Linked DNA regions of Homo sapiens: region 2 is linked to region 1. The links are contacts of gene promoters, found by promoter capture Hi-C in human tissues and cell types (Jung and others, 2019). All regions are on one chromosome and are shown on one strand. Each heading gives the region's core, a stretch centred on a gene start or on the middle of the fragment in contact. The rest is flanking DNA. Distances are from core to core; before and after follow the strand shown.

Region 1 (6,243 bases), core at 2,354-4,853:
CCCTTAAGAGGCATTTGACTGGTGCTGCCGTCTGTGTCCTCAAAGCAATGCTGGTGGCAGCGTCCTGTGTACACATGCAGAGCTAATACCCAAACTAAAAACTGGGTAACTGGCCCTGAAGTGCTTCCCAATCAGTAAGCCCACAGGGAAATGTTTGATTTTTATGTTCTGTTGGATTTTGGTTTGCTTGGCATATCTAAAGGTGCCTTTACTTTTCTTTTTTTTTTTTTTTCTTTCTGCTTTGTTTTGTAGGACTTGTTCTAACATGGAAAACAAGTCCAGAAGACTCTCCTCTGACTGTTACCTTTGCCCCAAGCCACCCCAAACTTTTATGCTCATGTTTTATTAAAGCAGGTGCTCCCTGGAATCTCTGGGACATTTTTGAGGCATTTGAAGCAGAATATAGAGTGGTCTCATCTCCTTCCTTAATCTTCCTGGTGGTTGGGATGTTCCACTTGTATCATAGATTTTTTTATTACAGATATGCTCCACTGTTTTTAAATGTGAACTTGTGCGCAAATGTGCAGATTCAATGTTCTTGTTACAGATTGAATAAATTTTTATTTTGAAGATGAAACGTGTACTTCATCAGATGCAACAAAGGAGGGAGGTGCTGGAGAAGGTGGGAGAGTCAGAAGAGGAAACACAGTGAACACCAGTAGTTTTCAATGATTGATCCCAGTCATGTCACCCTGAAGAGAGAGCTGAGTCCCCAGAAATAAATGAAACACCTCAGCCCACTGAAAAATGTCTAGAAATGGGACATGAACATCATGAGATATTTAGTGGTGCCATTCATCACATACAAGGCAGGACTACCATCTAGGGAGAGCTCAGTTTCCAGTTCCCAATTGCTAACAAAATTTGAAGTCCCCGCCCCCCTCAAAAAAAAAAATCACTGCCTTGAACTAAAGTCAGCCTGCTTCATTCTGAATCATCCATATCAAGTGGGAGGGGCACAGTGCTGGTCTTTAGCTGGAGTGCATGACGGTGAAGGTAAGGTCTTTCACAAAATATTCTAAGGATCCCTGGGATCCCTGACCAATCTAGATAAGTTCAGTCTTGGTTTTCTAGCCAAAGCAGATGGACCAAATCATGGCTAAGTTGCGAGCTACCTCATCCAGAAAATGGCTTCCTAAAAGATGAAATCCATGGCTGTCTTCTATGGATTGCCGTTCAGAGCTAACAGTTCAAAAGGGAGGCACGAAGCCCAAGTAGCTTCTCTCCCTGATTGGTTCTTCCTGCCTTAACTCTGCCCACTCACAGCTCTGTCAGGCCTTGGCAGCCAGAAGAAGGCTAGAGGGCAGGGCTGAGCTACGCCAGGCCCAAGCAAATATCTGAATCCCTGTACCCAGAAAGCACTGCTCTTCCTAGATGATGGAACTGAAGGGAGCACGCATTGAAGGATTCCTGCTTCCTAGTCCCAAGCGCTTCCCTCTAGAAGGGAGTCTCCTGTTCTCTTTAAAGAGAAGGAGGGTGGGGGTAGGGGAGATGCCACTTCAGAGGAGGCAGCACATAAAATCCCTACTCTGCTAAGGAGTGGTGCAGAGTTGGAAAGAATCTGACCCAATCCTGTTCAGAGAGCTGTAAAAATATGGCGATTGAGCCAGGACTGGAACCAGTTTTTTAATTCATTCCAGGCATCCTTTCCTCTGTGCCACACAGTATAAACTCTCAGTTACGTTTTAGCTCAGCACTTGTGAGATAAAGTGGCACTGTCCTTCAGGGAGAGACAGAAATGCATGCTGCTGAAAAGCAAGAACCAGATGCCAGACCACGTGGGTAAGAATCATAGCTACATCAACTACCAGTTGAGGTTGTGATGGGTAAGCCACCTAACCTCTTTGTGGCTCCATTTCCTCAACTGTTAAATAGGGATAACAACAGTACCCACCTTAGAGGATTGTTTTTTGGTTTTTTGTGCGTGTGTTTTATTTGAGACAGAGTCTCATTCTGTCACCCAGGCTGGAGGGCAGTGGCATGATCTCAGCTCACTGCAACCTCTGCCTCCTAGGTTCAAGCAATTCTCGTGTCTCAGCCTCCTGAGTAGCTGGGATTACAGGTGTGCATCACCACACCTGGCAAATTTTTGTATTTTTAGTAGAGATGGGGTTTTGCCATGTTGGCCAGGCTGGTCTCGAACTCCTGACCTCAGGTGATCCACCTGCCTCAGCCTCCCAAAGTGCTGGGATTACAGGCGTTAGCCACCCGCGACCAGCCTAGAGGATTGTTAAGAGTATGAAATTAATACGTATAAAGCCCTTAGTGCCAGTGCCTAGCACATAAGCATGGGTTATTGTTGTAAAGGAGCAACTGAGTCACTCAGGTATTTTCCTCCTAATCATGTGCCTGGAATCTTTAGGTAAAAGAGAGATGACTCACATACCCTCATACCCTGCCCCAGCACCCCTACGCCAGGAGTTATTTCTGGAGCACTCGTAACAGTTTTTTATTCTGTTCCCCTACAAGCCACTGACTCTTGATTTGATTCTGTCCCTACAAGCCACCTGGACTCTTCCTGAGAAACAAAGGAGCCTCGTGGGCCCTTCATGGTTTCTACCACCTTCCCTCCCTTTCCTCCCCAGTGCTGGTTCCTGCCCTTCAGAAGGCTGTGTTCCATTCACTCACTCCCAGGTGTGCCCTGGAGGGTGGGAAGTAATAACTGGCCCCAGATGCCCTTATGATCCAAGGGAAGAAATCCAGGCAATGTGCAGACACTGGGTAGACTGGAGCTACGGGACTGGCTGGTCTTCACTGGCTGTATTTTGATCAGGTTATCTTTAATCTCCTTGACCTCGGTCAACATTCAGTTCTGTGAATATTGGGGGAGACGGGGGAAGCTTACCTGGAACACAGTCGGGCGCCAATTCAAACAAGGCCCAGAAAACATTAGGAGTCTGGCCTCTGAGTTGGCTTCTCTGACCCCTAAAATGTGACTAGAGACCGGTGCTAGCCTCTTCCCCCTGCATCTGGGAGGGGAGGGAGTGTCAAGGTGGGTTCACTTTACACTCGGTCCTCCCCTTGTTCTTTCAGCTGCTTCCTGCCCTGCTCCATGGAATCTCATCTAATGGGGTGAAATGCCTAGCACACAGCCAGCATTTTAGGTTTCTCAAATGATCGCTATTGCCATTCATAACAATAACTAACATTCACAACCCTGTGTCGGGTGCCCTCTCACTTGCCCTACATCAGGATCAGCCTGGGTCCTCATTCTCTAGGGCCTCTTTCCCCCAGGGAGGCCTGGAAGTGCAGTCCCGCAGTCCCGGCCGATCGGGACAGCTAAATTGGGAGCGCGATTGAGGCTGGAATGCGGGTGGAGGCACCTGGTCTCCCTCGGCTGCCCGCTCTAGGGGCGCACGCCCCCTCGCCCGTTCCCTCTCCAAGCGTCCTGCTCTAGGTCTGCGAACCCGAGCCTCCCCAGCCTACCCGGGAGTCATGGAGGGAGGGAAGCAGCGTGCGCACCTAGCACACAGCTGCACATTTATTTTCGATGGTTCTCCGAGGCCGGCGGAAGCTGGGAGGGGAGTCGGGGTCGCTCGACTTTCCCGCCGCTGGAGGGGGCGGGGCAACTTGGGCTCTGGCCCCGCCCCTATGCTAGCCCCGCCCTCTTAGGTTGATGGCAGCGGCAGCTGGGGCTGCAGCGGCGCCGGGCTCTAGAGAGCCGCAGGATCGGCCAGAGTGCGGAGCTGGACACCCGGGTCCCAGATACTACAGACACCCGGAGAGGTGGCTCCTTCGCCCTGAAGCCTTCCTCGGCCCCCTACGCACTCGGGCCCCTTCCGCAGAGGATTCGCAGCGTGAGCGCCCCGCAGCCCGCTCAGGACCAGGTACCCAGCCCCCCACACCCGGCCGTCACCGCAGCCAGCGGAGCGGGCGGGGTCCCTGAGGGGCAGAGGTCTGCGCCTCCTCCCCCCGCGCCGCCAAATTCGGTTTCGGGCGGGGAGGACGTGGTGTCTATATTTGGCCGGACAGCAGCCAGCGCTCCCGGAGGGCGCAGACACCTCGTCTCGCAAGAACGCAGTGTCAGGGCAGCAGGCTGAAGAAGGGTGCAGGGAGGCCGGGCCTCAGGCTCGGGGCCGCAGACGCGCCTTGAAGGGCACACGGATGCTGGGGCTGGGGTGGGGCAGGAGCCACTGGCTGGGGCTTTGGGAGTGCTCAGTGTGTCCTCTAGGGAGACCCTAGCTGGAGAAAAGGCACCTCACCCTCCCCACCCCTGCAAATCTGGCTTGGCCGTGGCGGGGGCAGGGGTGGAGGATGGGGTTGAAGACCCCACCCCTAGAAGAGTTCACTAGGAAGAAGGCCCAACCAGGGCAGAGGACCCAGAGGAGAAACCGGACAAGCCTATGGTAGGCAAAAGCCAGAAGACCATGATCAGGGCTTCCTGGAGAAGCCAGTGCAGAAAGGAGTGGGAGAAGAGGGATCCACCTCACTCTGTGCTGCCACCCGTCCCCCCACAAGGCATGGGATGAAAACAGTAGCAGAAAGGACTCAGATTGGTGGACAGGAGGAACTTCCCCCTTGGCAAAATTTTAGGAAAAGGCAAAACCCCATCTGCCTGAACTATTCCAGAGATGCGAGTTCGGTATCCTGTGGTGGCTGCAGTCTTGGCCCCATACCTGGCTTTAAGCCAAGATCCAATGGTCAAGTCTTCTGCTTCTGGACAGGGTGCCTCTGGGAGCTACAACCACGTCCGTGAAGAGATGCTCATCAAGGCTGGCGGTGGTGGGGGCGGGGGGTGCAGGCAGTGTGGCATTGAGGCTCCTCCCAAAAACATTCCAACGTCCAGAAAGCTTTCAGTCTGTTAGGCTCCACAATCCCCTCAGCCTGGGTCTCTGTGGAGAATTCAGGCCCCAAATCCTAGCCACTTACATTAAACAGCATTTTACACAGCAAAATAACTTTCCCATACTTTGACCACCTTGAAGAAAGCTCCCTGCTTCTAGGACCAGACACTATATGGATTTATACCTGACTCCTGACCACATAACCCTTCTCATCAGCCACCCCTCCACTCCTCCTCCCTCCCGCAGCTCACAGGACTAAGGACCAAAGGCATTTCTGGGCACTGAGATCCTACCTCTCTGCCTGCAGCTATGAGCAGACGTGTGGTTCGGCAAAGCAAGTTCCGCCATGTGTTTGGGCAGGCAGCAAAGGCCGACCAGGCCTACGAGGACATCCGTGTGTCCAAGGTCACATGGGACAGCTCCTTCTGTGCCGTCAACCCCAAATTCCTGGCCATTATTGTGGAGGCTGGAGGCGGGGGTGCCTTCATCGTCCTGCCTCTGGCCAAGGTGAGGGATCAGGGAAAGGAAGCAAGTGGGAGGACACTAGCTGGGGCCCCTGGGAACTCCTGAGCCTTTGTTCTCACCTAGTTCCATTCCATAGTCAGGAGAAGCATCTGTGTGGATTGGCTCCTCCCTATTCCCCAAGCCCTCAAGGACCAGAGGGGAGGCCACCCCACCCCACCCTAACATCAGGGTGGCTTACTCCCACTCCCTAGCCCTCCCACCTCTCCATGCACCACCCCATTCCCAGCAGGGACCAGGAGGGGAGCCGGGTGATGGAGATGGTTGGGACACAGCACAGCCAAGCCTGGCCAGATTCCATCACTGCCTCTCCTAATGCCGCATCCCCTCATGTTTTGGGTGTGGAGAACCTCCTCCCTAGCCCAAGATGACCATTTGATTAAGTCACATCCCAGAGCAGCAAACTGAGGACAGGGTCAGGCTCTATCCAAAGAGTCCCTGGTTACCTCCAAGGACACTTGCAGTGAAGTAGAAAGAAAGGGAACGGAAAGGAAGGGGGACATGACACATAAAGCCAGAGCCCTCCCTACCCTCAGGATGGGGACCAGGCAATGACTACCACGTTAGCTTCATAACCTTAAGCCCCTTGACCATCCACATCCCAAGGATGACTCTCCCCCAACCCCCAAGGTATGACCTTGACCTGGATTCTGGCCCCTACACCTTGTTAGGGTAGGCTCCACAGGTGGCGGGGTCAGGAAGAGGCCTGAAAAAGCCAGTGACTCACCCCAGACAATGCAGACATCATCCTGGGACACAGCCCCAGGGCTCAAATTTCAGCCGGAGCTGCCTCCTCCCCCAATATGTCTGCTCTTTCAGTACCACATAGCCACCCTCTCCCCCGCTGCCTGGTCTGGACCAGTGTCTGCCCCTGCAGAGGTCTCAGAACCCCCACAAGCAGCCTGTGAAGACCAAAAAATAGATGGGCCCCCAGCTC
Region 2 (6,243 bases), core at 1,308-3,807, 78 kb after region 1:
CACCCAATACCAAATCCTTCTCTCCCAGTGGCCATTTCCTGTTGATTTTACAGTTCAGGAGAATCTTAGATGCTTTAGCAGTAATTCCTTTCTTGGCTGTTTTGATCCTCAGCAAAGTATATAATTATTAGTATTAATGGAGTAAAAAAAGTAAGAGGATCAATGGTATCACTACTAAGAAATACATATAGAAAGCACATAAAGATTGTGTGATTTATTGGTTCTTTTTCTTATCATCTTTGCAGAGGAATCACCATCAGTGTTCTTACTTTCCATGGTTCATTTCTCTCTGCATTACTTATCTCTTATTGCATCACAACACAAACTCACAGAAACACTAACTGGCTCCTTCCCCAGCACCATTTTACTGCATTGCAACTTATGATTCCAAATTTTACTTAATGTCCTCTCCACTCACAGAAGTGCTAAGAGGGGATTAAAAAGGAAAAGACTGCATCTAATGACCACCTTCTCATAAACATCAACGCAGAGTACTCATTCTTAAGAAACACATGCATTCTTGCCTTAACTGAGGACTGAAATAACAAAACCAAACAAAAATAACAGAACTTTTAAGTGCCCTGATGGAAATGTACAGTATGAGTTACATCCATCCATCTATACACACATACAGACACTCATATGTATATACAATATATACATACAAATGATAATAGCTATACCAAAAATGTGCATATTTAATACAGTTTTAAAAAGCCAGTAGATCATGGTATAATACAATTTATTTCCACTAGTGAATGGCACAAATGGAGAAATGCAAAGGAGGTGTTTCAAGTACAATGAAGTCATTTTTCACAGGTGAAAATAAATAGTATTATTCCAGTGTCCAACATAATGTATTCTACAAAAGTTTAAAATGCCAGACATTTAGTACTTACAGAAATAGAAAGTTACTAAAGTCTGCTTTATGGTCTCAAAAAGACACTCATAGAGTTTTCAATTTTTGAAAAGGGGGTGAGAAAAAAATTGGTGGAAGCAGGAGGGAGTGTCCAGGATAGTTTCTTTAGTGTACTGAATGTTTACCTGATGTCTAGGCAACCAAAAATCATGACTATGCTAAAATGTTCCATTTACCAACAAATCCTTGACCTAGAGTACTAAGCATATTACACCAGTGTGTGTGGCTTCAAATACAAGACTCTCTATCTCTAGGTATTGAAATGGCGAATAAGAATTGCAGCTCTGAAAATATAATATAAACACATTTTTCAGATAGCATTATACAAATAAAAATACTTTTGGATACTAGAATTTGGGGTTAGAGCTGACTTCAATAAGGGGAGGAAAAAATATGTGCAAAGGGAAGGGAGCTCAATTTGGAATAATATATTTCAAAGTATGTGGCTTTGCATTTTTAAAATGCTAACCAAAAAAAATGTGAGATAGAGTGACCCCAAGGAACTTTTTACAGCCAGCCTCTGGATACCAGATATAGCATTTACAACTTCTGATATGCTAGACAAATTTTCCATAGTTTTAATTTTCTTAAAGACATATAGTGAGTGAACACCAACACTGGGAAGGAGGTAGTGTTAATTTGATCAAATATTGATATTTCCCCACTGATTCAGAAAGTGCTTGCTCTTTCTCTAGGATATCTCAAAACCCTTCCAATTTTTCTGCTACAAGCTTTACTCTATGATGGTTCCTACTATGTATGAGATTCCTCAGAAGCTAGATCTCACAAACATATACAAACCAATTAATTTGAATCATTTTTTGCAAACTGTATATACTTTAAAGTTAACTTAATGATAAAATCCAGGTATAGTCATGACCTACATGTAAAACTGGTGGCCAAATACATTAGATACAAAACCCTACTGGAGATCTGAATGGACTCAGTAACTCTCAATTTGACTAATTTAAGTCCACAATTGGACTTTAAAATGTACCACCAATAATATTTTGGGTTTGAAAGAGTTTTTGTATGCAAAAGTGATCTGCTTCCCTATTCCACCCATCCAGTAGTACAGAGCAGCCAGATCTATGAATAATTTTTAAGGGTATCAAATTGTATTTTTGACATTTTATTAAATTCTAAAGCTCTCTCGTCATTTTACACCAAATAAGTAATTTCTCAATTTGTTGGAAACGCTATAATACCTGAATGCAAAAAAGATACTGAGACGACTAAAAGCCCCTTTCACTGATATTACAAGTACATGTCATGTCATGTTTACCTAAAAACCGGTGACCTGGAGCATGGGCTGAAAGAACAACACATAAGAGTGCTTCTTGAAACACTGCCTAAAATTTTGTGTGAACTCTATGGTGATCTTGGTTTTAAAAACATTTACATTAAAACATTAATTTTCTTCCAGTTTCCTTAAAATGAATCCCAGAAACTCCTACAGGTGAGGATTCATGGCAACTCGACTGACATACCTGGGAAAGACTTAAAATTTGGTTGAGAAAACCAGGACTTCAACAGTGATAGATTGATTACTGTTTGGTCATTAGTTTGGTCTAGGCAAAGAGTGCCATTGAGAGGGACTTAGAGAGTTCTACCTTGGAGCCCTCTGACTATAGGAAAAGCAGGATCCAGAGTTAGCAGCAAGGATTCTTCAAGACAACTTGGAAGGGAGCAGGACAATAACTTGTAAGAAACTCTGATTTGTCACTGAAAAGGATATTTTTCTTCAAGTCATACTCACAGCTTCCTACCCACCTCCAACACAATTTATATACAAGAAATGGAAAACCAAGAAAATAACTGACTTTTTAGCATTGGGTTCATCCTTCATTGTACAACAAAACATAACAAAACAAAACATGTGCCCCCTGAAAAATAAGAGTTAGCTTTCGTCAAGAGATTCCCTGACCACTATAACTTATTTTACTTTTTTTTTTTAATTGGCCAAACTTCCTAGTTCCTTTTCAGTAGTACTTTAGCACTGAGGCTTGAGACTTGTGGAAGTGGTGTTTCCTATTGTGTGATGTTAACTTGATGCCAAATGGTCACTAAGTCTCAACGAACTAGAAGTTTGTAAAGTACTGCAGCAACGAAAACAGCAATTAAAAATAGAGGACCTGCACATGCAGCAAAATCTACAGTGGTGATGAAGATTAGTCAGCAGCTGGTAAAGTCATTGGCTCAGTGACTCCTGGTTCACTGTGGCAACTAAACATTTAAATAATTGGCTATTCTACTTGTAAACAGAAAATCACATAAGCCAAAAGGAGATAACAATTATGTCTATGTAGTGTGACGAGAATTTCAATAGATGGCAATTTGCAAATATGGCATCAAACACCTCCGGCATTTGATTTGTATTGGCTATATGTCTTTGTTTTTGTACAAACAAAGTAAAAGTACTGTTTGGGGTCTTGGGCATTATAGAGCTTAGCTAGGATGAGATATCACAGTATAAGCAACAAAACGTCAGGACACGTAAGCTTCATCTCCTCACTCTGCTGCGGGACATACCCACCATATGAACTTTCAGGGCCCCTCTCACCCTTCTGGTCTTCCCCATTGAAGGCTCATAGGTTTGTTAATGCAATCCTCACACAACTTGTGATCTCCTTAAGTACCCCCATCTTATCATAATACAAAGAAGGCACAATTGAATGGACAAAAATCACTCACAAGCCTATGACGCATTCAGGAAAAAAGAAAAACTAAGTTGTTTTCTACTCTCTGAAAAAATCAATGAAGTCCTTTAGTGTTCATGGATTTCTACACTTGATCTTAGCCAAAAGGCCGAGAAGCAATGTGTTCATGGATTTCTGCTTTCTTTTTTTAGTCCAAATGAGGCTGAGAAGTCAGATCAATTTAATAACAAATAAATACACTGGTGAGGCAATGCAGGTGTGTACCAGTAATAACTTATTTCAACATATGCTGCCTGCTGTGAGTGGCTCATAAGAATTTGGGATATGGGATAAAAAGGCTTTAGATCTTTTCAGAAACTTCTTAGGATACAGACACCCAAAAGTGATAACTGAAGCCATTTTGCTACGTTCTATTTTTGCAGTGTTCAGAAAAATCCCCTATCTAGCCAATTCTTTTCACCACATGCATAATATATGTGTATGTGTGTGTATATATATGTACACACATACACATTTATTTTTAATATCAACTCCACTTTTCAAAATTTCCCCAAAAACAAACAAACCCGGCAGCCAAGTACTATGACATCCCAATTAGTAAACACAAAACAGAACGCTTTACAAAAATGAATAAAATATACCATATGCACTCAGCTTCCACACTGTAGTACCCAAGTGAGGAGGCTGCTGTGATGATGTCTGTAGGCAGTTTCTTTTGGCAGACAGCTCCAGCGGAATTGCCACTCTCAATTATTAAGTTATGTATAAGACATGTGTGACCCATTGGATATTTGTGAAGTGACACTCGTGCTTCTGCTCATGCCCTGCTCCGTCCGTCCCCCAGAAGCTGTCCGCCTCAGAGCCTGGGGGCTATTGCGGACTCCCATACTGCTACCTCGAGGTACCCCTTGCATTGGCCCTGAAGGGTGACCCCATGGCTGGGGTCCACCTTGCATTGGATGGCCCCAAGCTTGTGGTGGGCCACCCATGGGATGACCCCAGTGAGGTCCTGGACCCCCAGTAGGGTTGTGTGACCAACCAGAAGCTCCCGGGTAGCTGTGGCTGAATGCCTCAGGGGAGAGATTAGAAAGGACCATATTACTAAAACCTAGTCTCATGCTTTCAGAGTCAAAAGCTTCAATCTCTCTGGCTTGACGTTCCAACAGGCTTCGTATTCGTTCTGTGCGCTCATTCTGCAAAGCCAACATCTCTTCTTCAATCTGTTGGAGATTGGAAGAAAAATGAAAGCCAATTTATTATTTTTAAGTCTATAAAGAAAGGAAGCAATAATTATTCAGCTTTGAAGTGGTTATTTTATGGATGTATATTTGTCCATGAGTTTCAAATTTTATTTAAACTTTTTCCCTTTAATTTATTAAAAAATTTTTAAAGTTTTTATATATTCGGGGGTACAACTGCAGATTTTTTTTACATGCACATATTGCGTAGTGGTGAAGTCTGGGCTTTTAGTGCACCCATAACTTGAATAGGGAACACTGTACCCAATAGGTAATTTTTCAACCCTCACTCATCTCCCACCCTCCCACCTTCTGTAGTCTCTAGTGTCTATTATTTGATGCTATGGATATACATTTAAAAATCAAGGCCGGGCGCGGTGGCTCACGCCTGTAGTCCCAGCACTTTGGGAGGCTGATGCGGGCGGATCATGAGGTCAGGAGATCGAGACCATCCTGGCTAACATGGTGAAACCCTGTGTCTACTAAAAATACAAAAAATTAGCCGGGCATGGTGGTGGCGGGCCCCTGTAGTCCCAGCTACTCAGGAGGCTGAGGCAGGAGAATGGTGTGAACCCGGGAGGTGAAGCTTGCAGTGAGCCGAGATCGTGCCACTGCACTCCAGCCTGGGCGACAGAGCGAGACTCCGTCTCACAAAAAAAATAAAAAGTAAAATAAAATAAAAAAATAAAAAGAGATGTCCCTTAGGAATCAGCATAATTTATATTTTTAAAATGTGTAAAATCAAGTTCCTTTTTTTCTTTTTTTTTGAGACGGAGTCTTGCACTGTCGCCTGGGCTGGAGTGGAATGTCACTATCTCAGCTCACTGCAACCTCCGCATCCTGGGTTCAAGCGATTCTCTAGCCTCAGCCTCCCATGTAGCTGGGATTACAGGCATGTGCTACCACATCCAGCTAATTTTTGTATTTTTAGTAGAGATGGGGTTTCACCATGTTGGCAAGGCTGATCTTGAACTGCTGACCTCAGATGATCCTCCCGCCTCAGCCTCCCAAAGTGCTGGGATTGAGGATTTGAGATAATAGGGGAAATTTAGACATGCATTTAAAAATTATTATGAATTCTGTTAGATATCACAGTGGAATTATGATTACATTAAAGTCAAAAGTCCTATCTAGGCCGGGCGCGGTGGATCACGCCCATAATCTCAGCACTTTGGGAGGCTGAGGCGGGTAGATCACTTGAGGTCAGAAGTTCGAGACCAGCCTGGCCAACATGGTGAAACCCCATCTCTACTAAAAATACAAAAATTAGCCAGGCGCGGTGGCACACGTCTGTAATCCCTGCTTCTTGGGAGGCTGAGGCAGGAGAATCACTTGAACCTGGCAGGCAGAGGCTGCAGTGAGCAGAGATCACACCACTGCACTCCAGCCTCGGCGACAGACTGAGACTCCATCTCAAAACAAACAA

Evidence for each region. Contacts are between HindIII fragments. The study calls those that stand out against the background at their distance.
Region 2: a fragment that was not itself captured here is called in contact with the fragment with the promoter of CORO6 in region 1 in 2 of the 25 tissues and cell types used here (H1 embryonic stem cells and dorsolateral prefrontal cortex).

The regions. Positions count from the first base shown.
Region 1 is chr17:29,620,272-29,626,514 of GRCh38, reverse strand. CORO6 (coronin 6) reads left to right here and starts at 3,603. Exons shown (of 11, transcript NM_032854.4): 1 at 3,603-3,827; 2 at 5,031-5,291. The coding sequence starts at 5,094. It overlaps SSH2 (slingshot protein phosphatase 2), which reads left to right. Exons shown (of 16, transcript NM_001282129.2): 16 at 1-577. RefSeq lists enhancers at 1,803-3,002, 5,910-6,204 and a silencer at 3,790-3,939. The HindIII fragment of the contact is 11,130 bases long and covers 981-6,243 here.
Region 2 is chr17:29,541,117-29,547,359 of GRCh38, reverse strand. It overlaps TAOK1 (TAO kinase 1), which reads right to left. Exons shown (of 20, transcript NM_020791.4): 20 at 1-4,799. The coding sequence ends at 4,338. It also overlaps the pseudogene LOC124904148. Among named protein-coding and RNA genes, the nearest start is that of ABHD15, 23 kb to the left of the region's middle. The HindIII fragment of the contact is 5,004 bases long and covers 56-5,059 here.